Linked DNA regions of Homo sapiens: regions 1 and 3 are each linked to region 2. The links are contacts of gene promoters, found by promoter capture Hi-C in blood cells and fetal thymus (Javierre and others, 2016). All regions are on one chromosome and are shown on one strand. Each heading gives the region's core, a stretch centred on a gene start or on the middle of the fragment in contact. The rest is flanking DNA. Distances are from core to core; before and after follow the strand shown. Region 1 has its middle 11 kb from the start of PPP3CC. Region 2 holds the start of RHOBTB2 (Rho related BTB domain containing 2). Region 3 overlaps PIWIL2 (piwi like RNA-mediated gene silencing 2).

Region 1 (2,771 bases), core at 116-2,615, 570 kb after region 2:
CTGAGGCAGGTGGATCATGAGGTCAGGCGATCGAGACTATCCTGGCTAACACAGTGAAACCCTGTCTCTACTAAAAATACAAAAAATTAGCCAGGTGTGGTGGCACGTGCCTGTAGTCCCAGCTACTCAGGAGGCTGAGGCAGGAGAATTGTTTGAACCCAGGAGGCAGAGGTTGCAATGAGCTGAGATCACGCCACTGCACTCCAGCCTGGGCAACAGAGGGAGACTCCATCAAAAAAAAAAAAAAAAGAGGGAATTGGGAGTCCCAGACCGGCTGCGGCAGCTCGCCCCTATAATCCCAGCACTTTGGGAGGCCGAGATGGGCGGATTACTTGAGGCCAGGAGTTAAAGACCAGCCTGGCCAACATGGTAAAACCTTGTTTCTACTAAAAACACAACGATTAGCTGGGCATGATGGCACAGGCTTGTAATCCCAACTACACAGGAGGCTGAAACAAGAGAATGGCTTGAACCCAGGAGGTGGAGTTTGCAGCGAGCCGAGATCACACCACTGCACTCCAGCCTGGACGACAGAGCAAGACCCTGTCTCCAAAACGAAAAAAAAAGAATTGGGAGCCCCAAAGCTGCCGTCACTTCCTGCTTGTGACTGTTGTTGTTTGCATCATTGCAGAACAGGAGAAAATGGTGGCAACCAGTACATAACACATTTGGTGGTTCCACAGGTAAGATACCAAGGTAAACAGCACTGGCATTCAAGTTGCTTGGACCAAAAATTTAGAATCAGGGACGCCTTTCCACACACTGTATCCTGTCAACTTCCTCCCCCTACCGTCTATTTTCCTATACAGCAGATCTTTCTAAACTTAAAGCATAAAACTGATTTGTCATTCCTCTGGTTAAAACTCTCTTGTGGTCTAAGGGCGATGGCCCACGCCTGTAATCCCAGCACTCTGGGAGGCTGAGGCAGCAGGATTACTTGAGCCCAGGACTTGGAGACCAGACTGGGCAACTTAGTGAGACCCCGTCTCTAAAAAAAAATTAAATTAGCCAGGCTGGTTGAGGTAGGTGGGAGGATCTCTTGAGTCCAGGAGTTTGAAGCTGCAGTGACCTCTGACCCCATCTCTAAAACAAACAAACAAAAACAAATGTCTTCTCCTTTCCCGAAGTGGTCTGACTCCTGTCAACTTTGAGCTCCCACCAACCTTCTTCCCTCATGTCTGCTGCAGTCCAGACAGACTGGCCTTGTTTCTGCTGTTTACACATACTGGCCTCAAATAGATGAAGCTTATTTCTGTCTCAGCATTCTTGCGTTGGCCGGCCCTTTGGCTTAGAACATTCTTCTACAGTCACAAAGCTCAACTCAGATGTCATCTGGTTAGAGCCCTTTCCTGATCACCTCTATCCCTGTCTGCCCATTCCCTACCTCACTCCCCCGTGTTAATTTATCTGTAGCACTTGGTTTTTGTTTATTTCCCCTCACTCCTTAAGGGAAGGATCTTTCACTGCTATGTCATGCCAAGCTTGGCAGAGTTGGAGCTCAACAATTTGTTGAATGAATGGATTTCATCTTACTCTTGTCTGCAGCAGAAGTTTTTCACCTGGGGCACAGGGGCTTCAGGAGATCATTCCCTTCTCGTCTACCTCCCATCCCCATGCTGCTCCCAATTATAAATGAAATTAAAGGTTGGAGTATATTTACACATGCTATGAGTGTGTATGAGCAATCATGTATTTTTCAGATTCTCAAAGGAATCCAAAGAACAAAATGTTAATTACTACTAGTACAGAGCTTTAATTTCTAAAACATTTTGCATATTTACTTCTCATTATACTTATACCTACCTTATAAGGTAGGCAGTATAAAATTATAATTTCTACTTCATAAAAATATTGAGGTGCAGAGAGGTTAAACATGTTAGAGATCACACAGATAGTCAATGATGGAATTGACATGAATCCATTCCTATGGATGCAAAATCCTGTGTTCTTTTTTTGTTTGTTTGTTTTTGAGACGGAGTCTGGCTCTGTCGCCCAGGCTGGAGTGCAGTGGTGAGATCTTGGCTCACTGCAAGCTCTGCCTCCCGGGTTCATGCCATTCTCCTGCCTCAGCCTCCCGAGTAGCTGGGACCACAGGTGCCCGCCACCACGCCCAGCCAATTTTTTGTATTTTTAGTAGAGACGGGGTTTCACCGTGTTAGCCAGGATGGTCTCGATCTCCTGACCTTGCGATCCACCCGCCTCGGCCTCCCAAAGTGCTAGGATTACAGGCGTGAGCCACCACGCCTGGCCATTCTGTGTTCTTTTTCAAGACAAAGACACAATGCAGAACTCTGGGGAAGTAAGTTTGCATTGGTTCTTACCTTCGTTTGCTCAAAAATTACCAAACATCAACACTTTTCCAAGGATTCTCCCATTTAAACTAGTTTACAAGGCTGCTTTAAGTTTTTCAGTGAAAAAACAAAATCATCAGTTAGATCAAGGCAGTCTTCCATGCAGTCAGCCTCCATTTCAAACAAAATGTTAAAAGAACACATGAACTGGCCTGGCGCAGTGGCTCATGCCTGTAATCCCAGCACTTTGGGAGGCCAGGCTGGGCGGATCACAAGGTCAAGAGATCGAGACCAGCCTGGCCAACATGGTGAAACCCTGTCTCTACCAAAAATACAAAAATTAGGTGGGTGTGGTGGCATGCGCCTGTAATCCCAGCTACTCAGGAGGGTGAGGCAGGAGAATCGCTTGAACCCGGGAGGCAGAGGTTGCAGTGAGCTGAGATCGTACCACGGCACTACAGCCTGGGCAATGGAGTGAGA
Region 2 (2,825 bases), core at 326-2,825:
CCCCTCCAAAAACAGCCTCCTGCCCACCGCTCTCCCAGCTCTTTGTACTTGGTGCAAGCCAAAACCCAAGGTGTGCTGAAATTAGCTACAAACCTCGTGCTCTCCCAGTCCCACCCCCACACCCCTACACACACTCTTTGCAGAGCTCAGAAAGGGCCCCTTTCCCTCCCACAGCTGATAGGAGGCTTGTTCATCTGTGGCTGCCCTAGTCTGGTTGTCAAGGAAACAACAGAATCTCCCTGGGAGCCTGGCTTGTCTCCTAGCAACCAGTATCCCACATCATCTTACAAAATGGGAATGGGAGGAAAATCCTGAAAATGAAGGTAAAATCAAGGGAGATGGATTGAATGGAGAATTGGAAGGAGAAGAACAAAGAGAGAGTGGACTCCTAATTCGGGGAGGCTCCCACGGGGGTCGCTGGCATTGCAAGAAGCCCCGTGCAGATCCAACAGAAAGCAAGGCCCAAAGGGACCCTGAATGGTCAGATTAAAGAAATGCAAGCCTAAACACAGATAAGCCCCCTCAAACCTAAAATGTGGACACATCACCAAACACCGCCAAAGATCTCCCCAGTAGTTTCACAGAACTCAGTTACATAGACTGCAATGGAGTTGAGTTCAAAGAACCAGCTCCGGAACCGCCAGCAAAACACCCCAATTCCACTGTTGTTTTGTGTTTGTTTTCTTAACAGAATCACTCCCACCACTCTGGACCGTTTTTCCTTTTTTCTGACACGCTACTCTGCACACACACAAAATAGAAATTTAAAAATTTTTAAACATCGAGAAGGGGGAGGGGCACGACAGGCCGAAGCAATCAAGTCATCTTCCTTTCCCTAGAAACACCGGAAAGGATTAGGCTCCAGCCCCGCTGTACCCAGCAGCCGAAGCCAGAGCCCAGGGACTAGCGGGGCCCGGGGAACGTAGCGAGGGGCGCGGCAGGGCAGGGAGGGCGGAGCGGCGCGTCTGCAAGGGCTGCTGGCCACCCCGCCATAACCGCAAGCAGCCATCTACTTACACCACTACATGTGACGGGGTGGCTTCTAGCGTGAGGAACACATCTCTTCCTGCTGAGCACGCTCATTTTAGTGAAATGTCAGGGGTCCCTCCGCGCCTGCAAGTTGGGACGACGCCGGCGCCGCCGCGCTGCTGCTGGGCTCCAGCCTCCCGGCCAGCTCGCGGCCACTCAGAAACTCCGGCAGGGCAGCCCAGGCCGGACGTGGGCCCAGGAGCGGACGCGCGCGCTGCACTGCAGCCGCTGCCCCTTCCGGATCAGCATCGCCCCGCGCGCCAGGCGCCCAATGTCACGGCGGCGCGCGGAGCCGGGCTGCGGAGGCAGCGGGCGGCGCGCAGGGGCGCCGGGAGAGGGGCGAGGCCGCCGCCGCTACGCGCCCGGGCCCGCGGCGAAGGCGCTGCCGCGAAGACGCCTGGCGCTGCAGTCCCAGGTACCGCTCGCGACCTCCTTTTTTCATTCACAAAAAAAGGATAGGGAAAAAAAAAAGAAAAGAAAAAAACGGGAGGGTAAAAAAAGGAGGAGAAAAAAATCGCACCCAAGACGACAGCCGTGACGGGCCCCGCCCACTGCCGCGCGCAGTTGGTGGAAAGCGTTCGGGGGGCGGGGAGGGGGCGGGCGGGGGAAGAAGGGGATTGGACGCCCCGCAGATCCCGCCTCGCAGCACCGCTCCCGCCCACCGCCCGCGCTCTTCCGCCCCTCCCGCAGCGACGCCGCGGGGAGGGTCTCGGCTCGCGGGTCTGGGTGGCGCCGGTCCCTCCACCTGGCGAGGCGCAAAGGCTCTCCGGACGCCCACGGGGTTTTCCCCTTTCCTTCGGGAGGCGGGGGAGAACCTCTGAGAGGCATCCTAGTGCACCCTGGAAGGGATGCTAGTTGGAGGAGAACGTGTGGTTGTAAGCCCAGGCCCCCACCACTTGCCCACGGGGAGGCGACGGCAGGGGCAGTCGGGGGGGCGGGGGGCGGGGGCCGGGTAGGGACGAATAACCGGCGTTTCCATACAAGCCCTCTGCTGCTTTGGGAATTTTCGTGGCACTTGAGAGCCTTCCTCCCTCCATGGCCCTTAATGAGTTGTGGGGTGGGTACCTGTACCACGTTACCTGTCTCCCACCTAGGCCTTCTTCAGCGGGTCCCCACCTCCATCCCATCCCCCTCCTGTTGCCTCCTGGAGTTCAGTAATAGCTGCTAATCTCTGAAAGAAACACCATGAAGTGAGTAGCCTCGAAAATCGTCCCTAAGCCTTCTTTGGGTTTTCTGCCTCAATTTACCCCTCTGTAAAATAGAGAGATTCTAAGGTATAACATCTATAACCTGAGGGGTCCCTAGAAGACACTTTCCATATTCAAGGCTGGTTTTATCAGGATAATCTTTTTTTTTTTTTTTTTTTTTTGAGTCTCCCTCTGTTGCCCAGGCTGGAGTGCAGTGGTGCAATCTTGGTTCACTGCAACCTCCGCCTCTTGGGTTCAAGCAGTTCTGCCTCAGCCTCCCGAGTAGCTGGGACTACAAGTGCACGCCACTATTCCCAGCTAATTTATGTATTTTTGGTAGAGACGGGGTTTCACCACCTTGGCCAGGCTGGTCTCGAACTCCTGACCTCGGGTGATCTGCCTGCCTTGGCCTCCCAAAGTACTAGGATTACAGGCGTGAGCCACCATGCCCAGCCAGGATGATCTTGACTGCTAGTGTTAAGTAGTCAGCTCAGTCTGGTTTGATTCATCTCCTCAGTTACCTCTGGACAATTTTTAAAGCCCAGACCAGCCTGCCACCCACCTGAACCGCCTCCACCACTCCTCCATCTTGTGCTCTGAAAATGCAAA
Region 3 (2,750 bases), core at 210-2,709, 720 kb after region 2:
TGCACTGCAGCCTGGGCGACAGAGTGAGACTCCGTCTCAAAAAGAAGAAAAAATAAATTGTCCTATCTCTTTGTCAATCTCCCACTGGCAAAAAACAAAACACCCCGCAGTATTATTACCCAGGGAGGACCCAACACAAACAGATTTTACAATACTACACACGAGCCAAAATGCAGAGTTTTCACGATCATTACTAAGTAGAGAAGGCAGTGCTCCTGACTTACTTTTCCTTGTGTTCCACAGTCAGGACCAGAGGGCGATCTGGAGAGTGCAGGGGAGACTGGGGCAGAGCTGGTGGTGATGACAGCTGCGGGGGACCCCGGGACGGTGTGCTGAAGGTACAGGGAGGCTTGTCCACTTCTCTGCTGATACCACCTGCTGCTCTTCCCAGTGGTAATAAAGACGCATCTGAACTCCCTCTTCCAAGCGTCCTGAAATGTGGAGAGAGAGGCAAATCAGGGTTTTTTATAATAGCTATGTCCCATCCAGATTATTCCCCCAACTCCACAATCTCTTCCTGGAGGAGACAGCAAAAGGGATCCAAGTTTCAAATTCTCTCAAACTACATATGCCAAGGCCAGGCACAGTGGCTCACGCCTGTAACCCTAGCACTTTGGGAAGCTAAGGTGGGGAGACTGCTTGAGCCCAGGAGTTCAAGACCAGCCTAAACAATACAGTGAGACCCCGCACTATAAAAAATACAAAAATTAGCCAGGTATGGTGGCTCATAACTGTAGTCCCAGCTACTCGGGTGGCTGAGGTGGGAGGATCACTTCAGCCTGGGAGGTCGAGGCTGCAGTGAGCTGAGATCACACCACTGCACTAAAGCCTGGGTGACAGAGATAGAACGAATTTCAAAAAAAAAACACAACATATGCCACCATGACTCATTCACCAACTGCTATTGACTGTCAGAGCCATCTTCCATAGCAGAATAGAGGAGAAAGTTTGACTCAACGTTATTAAAGAATCACCACGGCTGCGTGCAGGGGCTCACGCCTATAATCCCAGCTCTCTGGGAAGCCAAGGCGGGAGGATTACCTGATGTCAGGAGTTTGAGACCAACCTGGCTAATAAGATGAAACCCCGTCTCTACTAAAAATACAAAAATTAGCTGGGTGTGAGGCGGAGGTTGCAGTGAGCCAAGATCGTGCCACTGCACTCCAGCCTGGTGACAGAGTGAGACTGTCTCCAAAAAAAAAAAAAAAAAAAAAAAAAAAGCCGGGTGTGGTGGCGCACACCTGTAGTCCCAGCTACTCGGCACACTGAGGCAGGAGAATCGCTTGAACCTGGGAGGTGGAGGTTGCAGTGAGCCAAGATTGCCCCACTGCATTCCAGCCCGGTCAACACAGTGAGACCCCATCCCTTAAAAAAAAAAAAAAAAAAAAAAGTCCACGCACAGTGGGGCTCATGCCTGTAATCTCAGCACTTTGGGAGGCCGAGGTGGGTGGACTGCCTGAGGTCAGGAGCTCAAGACCAGCCTGGCGAACACAGTGAAACCTCGTCTCTACTAAAAATACAAAAAATTAGTTGGGTATGGTGCCACATGCCTGTAGTCCCAGACACCTGGGAGGCTGAGGCAGGAGAATTGCTTGAACCTGGGAGGCGGAGGTTGCAGTGAGCCAAGATTGAGGCATTGCACTCCAGCTTGGGAGACAGAGCAAAACTTCATCTCAAAAAAAAAAAAAAAAAAAAAATCACCATGATCAGGGTAATTTTTTAAGAGGACAAATGAATTTTTGAACAGCCCAGTGGAGAACTACTTCTTACCCTTTTCCAATGCCTAGCTGTGTTAACAGCTGCTGACTACTCTTGAGAAATATGCATTCTTTAATATAAAACCAGACATTGATTATGAGATGACACAACTCTTCTTAGAGTTGCTCTCTGAACTTACAGAGATATTCCATCTGAATTTGATAGTTACCTGAGAGGGTAACTTTACCCACCTACTCCAACCAACGGAGGTCTCTGCCATCTTGCTGTCCCCAGCCGCCAACACTTTTGGATCCCAAAAAGTGGGAGAGAGTTCCTCCCTGTCCTTGCGTACCAGATTAGCAGACAAGCCTCGACCTAAAATGCCTCTACCTGAAAGAAAGAACCGAACCCCAGCAATGACTATGACTTAAACGTGTTTTAAAGTATAGTTTTTTTTTTTAAAAAAAGCACAGTTACGTTTCTGAAAATAAACCATTTGGATTTTAGAAGAAACCAATCATACATACCACCAAATTTCTCAAGTTAGTTTTCCACATACCTGATGGAAGCATTTCCCGTTTCAGAGGGGTCTTAGAAACTGTTTCAATGCCCAGGCCTCGGAACATGGAGACCAAACCCACAGACTCCTGTGGAAAGTCAAAGAATAAAGTTCTAAGAGGTAGTTTAAAACCCCAGAAACAAGGGCTTTCTTAGTCTTGGTATATAATAAAATCATCTTCAAATTCTATACATGTTATAAGAATAAAGGGAAACATTTTATAAACTTTAAAAAATACCTGTAACTATGTAATATTAGGTCTTAAAGCACAGTTACAGTTATGGCCCATGATTTGATGTGTACAGTATAACAAAATGCAACAGAACAGAATTAACTTTTCCATTTTGATTTGATAAACAGTATAACAAAATGCAACAGAACAGAGTTAATTTTTCCATTTTGATTTGATAAACAGTATAACAAAATGCAACAGAACTTTTCCATTTTTCTATTTTCTGCATATTCAAGGCAAGAGAGAACAAGTGTACTGGTT

What was found. Contacts are between HindIII fragments. The CHiCAGO score rates a contact against its expected background, and 5 or more counts as called.
Region 1: a fragment that was not itself captured here is called in contact with the fragment with the promoter of RHOBTB2 in region 2 in 1 of 17 cell types (non-activated CD4 T cells); the score reaches 5.8 in non-activated CD4 T cells.
Region 3: a contact is called between a fragment that was not itself captured here and the fragment with the promoter of RHOBTB2 in region 2, in 1 of 17 cell types (total CD4 T cells). The highest score is 5.0, in total CD4 T cells.

Annotation. Positions count from the first base shown.
Region 1 is chr8:22,428,470-22,431,240 of GRCh38, reverse strand. It overlaps a transcript of SLC39A14 not described here. Among named protein-coding and RNA genes, the nearest start is that of PPP3CC, 11 kb to the left of the region's middle. The HindIII fragment of the contact is 236 bases long and covers 1,248-1,483 here.
Region 2 is chr8:22,998,298-23,001,122 of GRCh38, reverse strand. It overlaps RHOBTB2 (Rho related BTB domain containing 2), which reads right to left and starts at 1,575. Exons shown (of 10, transcript NM_015178.3): 1 at 1,018-1,575. It overlaps RHOBTB2-AS1 (RHOBTB2 antisense RNA 1), which reads left to right and starts at 1,318. Exons shown (of 2, transcript XR_007060857.1): 1 at 1,318-1,444. RefSeq lists silencers at 866-915, 1,246-1,415, 1,636-1,895. The HindIII fragment of the contact is 10,673 bases long and covers 1-2,825 here.
Region 3 is chr8:22,280,715-22,283,464 of GRCh38, reverse strand. PIWIL2 (piwi like RNA-mediated gene silencing 2) reads right to left here. Exons shown (of 23, transcript NM_018068.5): 3 at 2,258-2,345; 4 at 1,950-2,088; 5 at 225-431. Among named protein-coding and RNA genes, the nearest start is that of PIWIL2, 6.8 kb to the right of the region's middle. The HindIII fragment of the contact is 5,060 bases long and covers 1-2,750 here.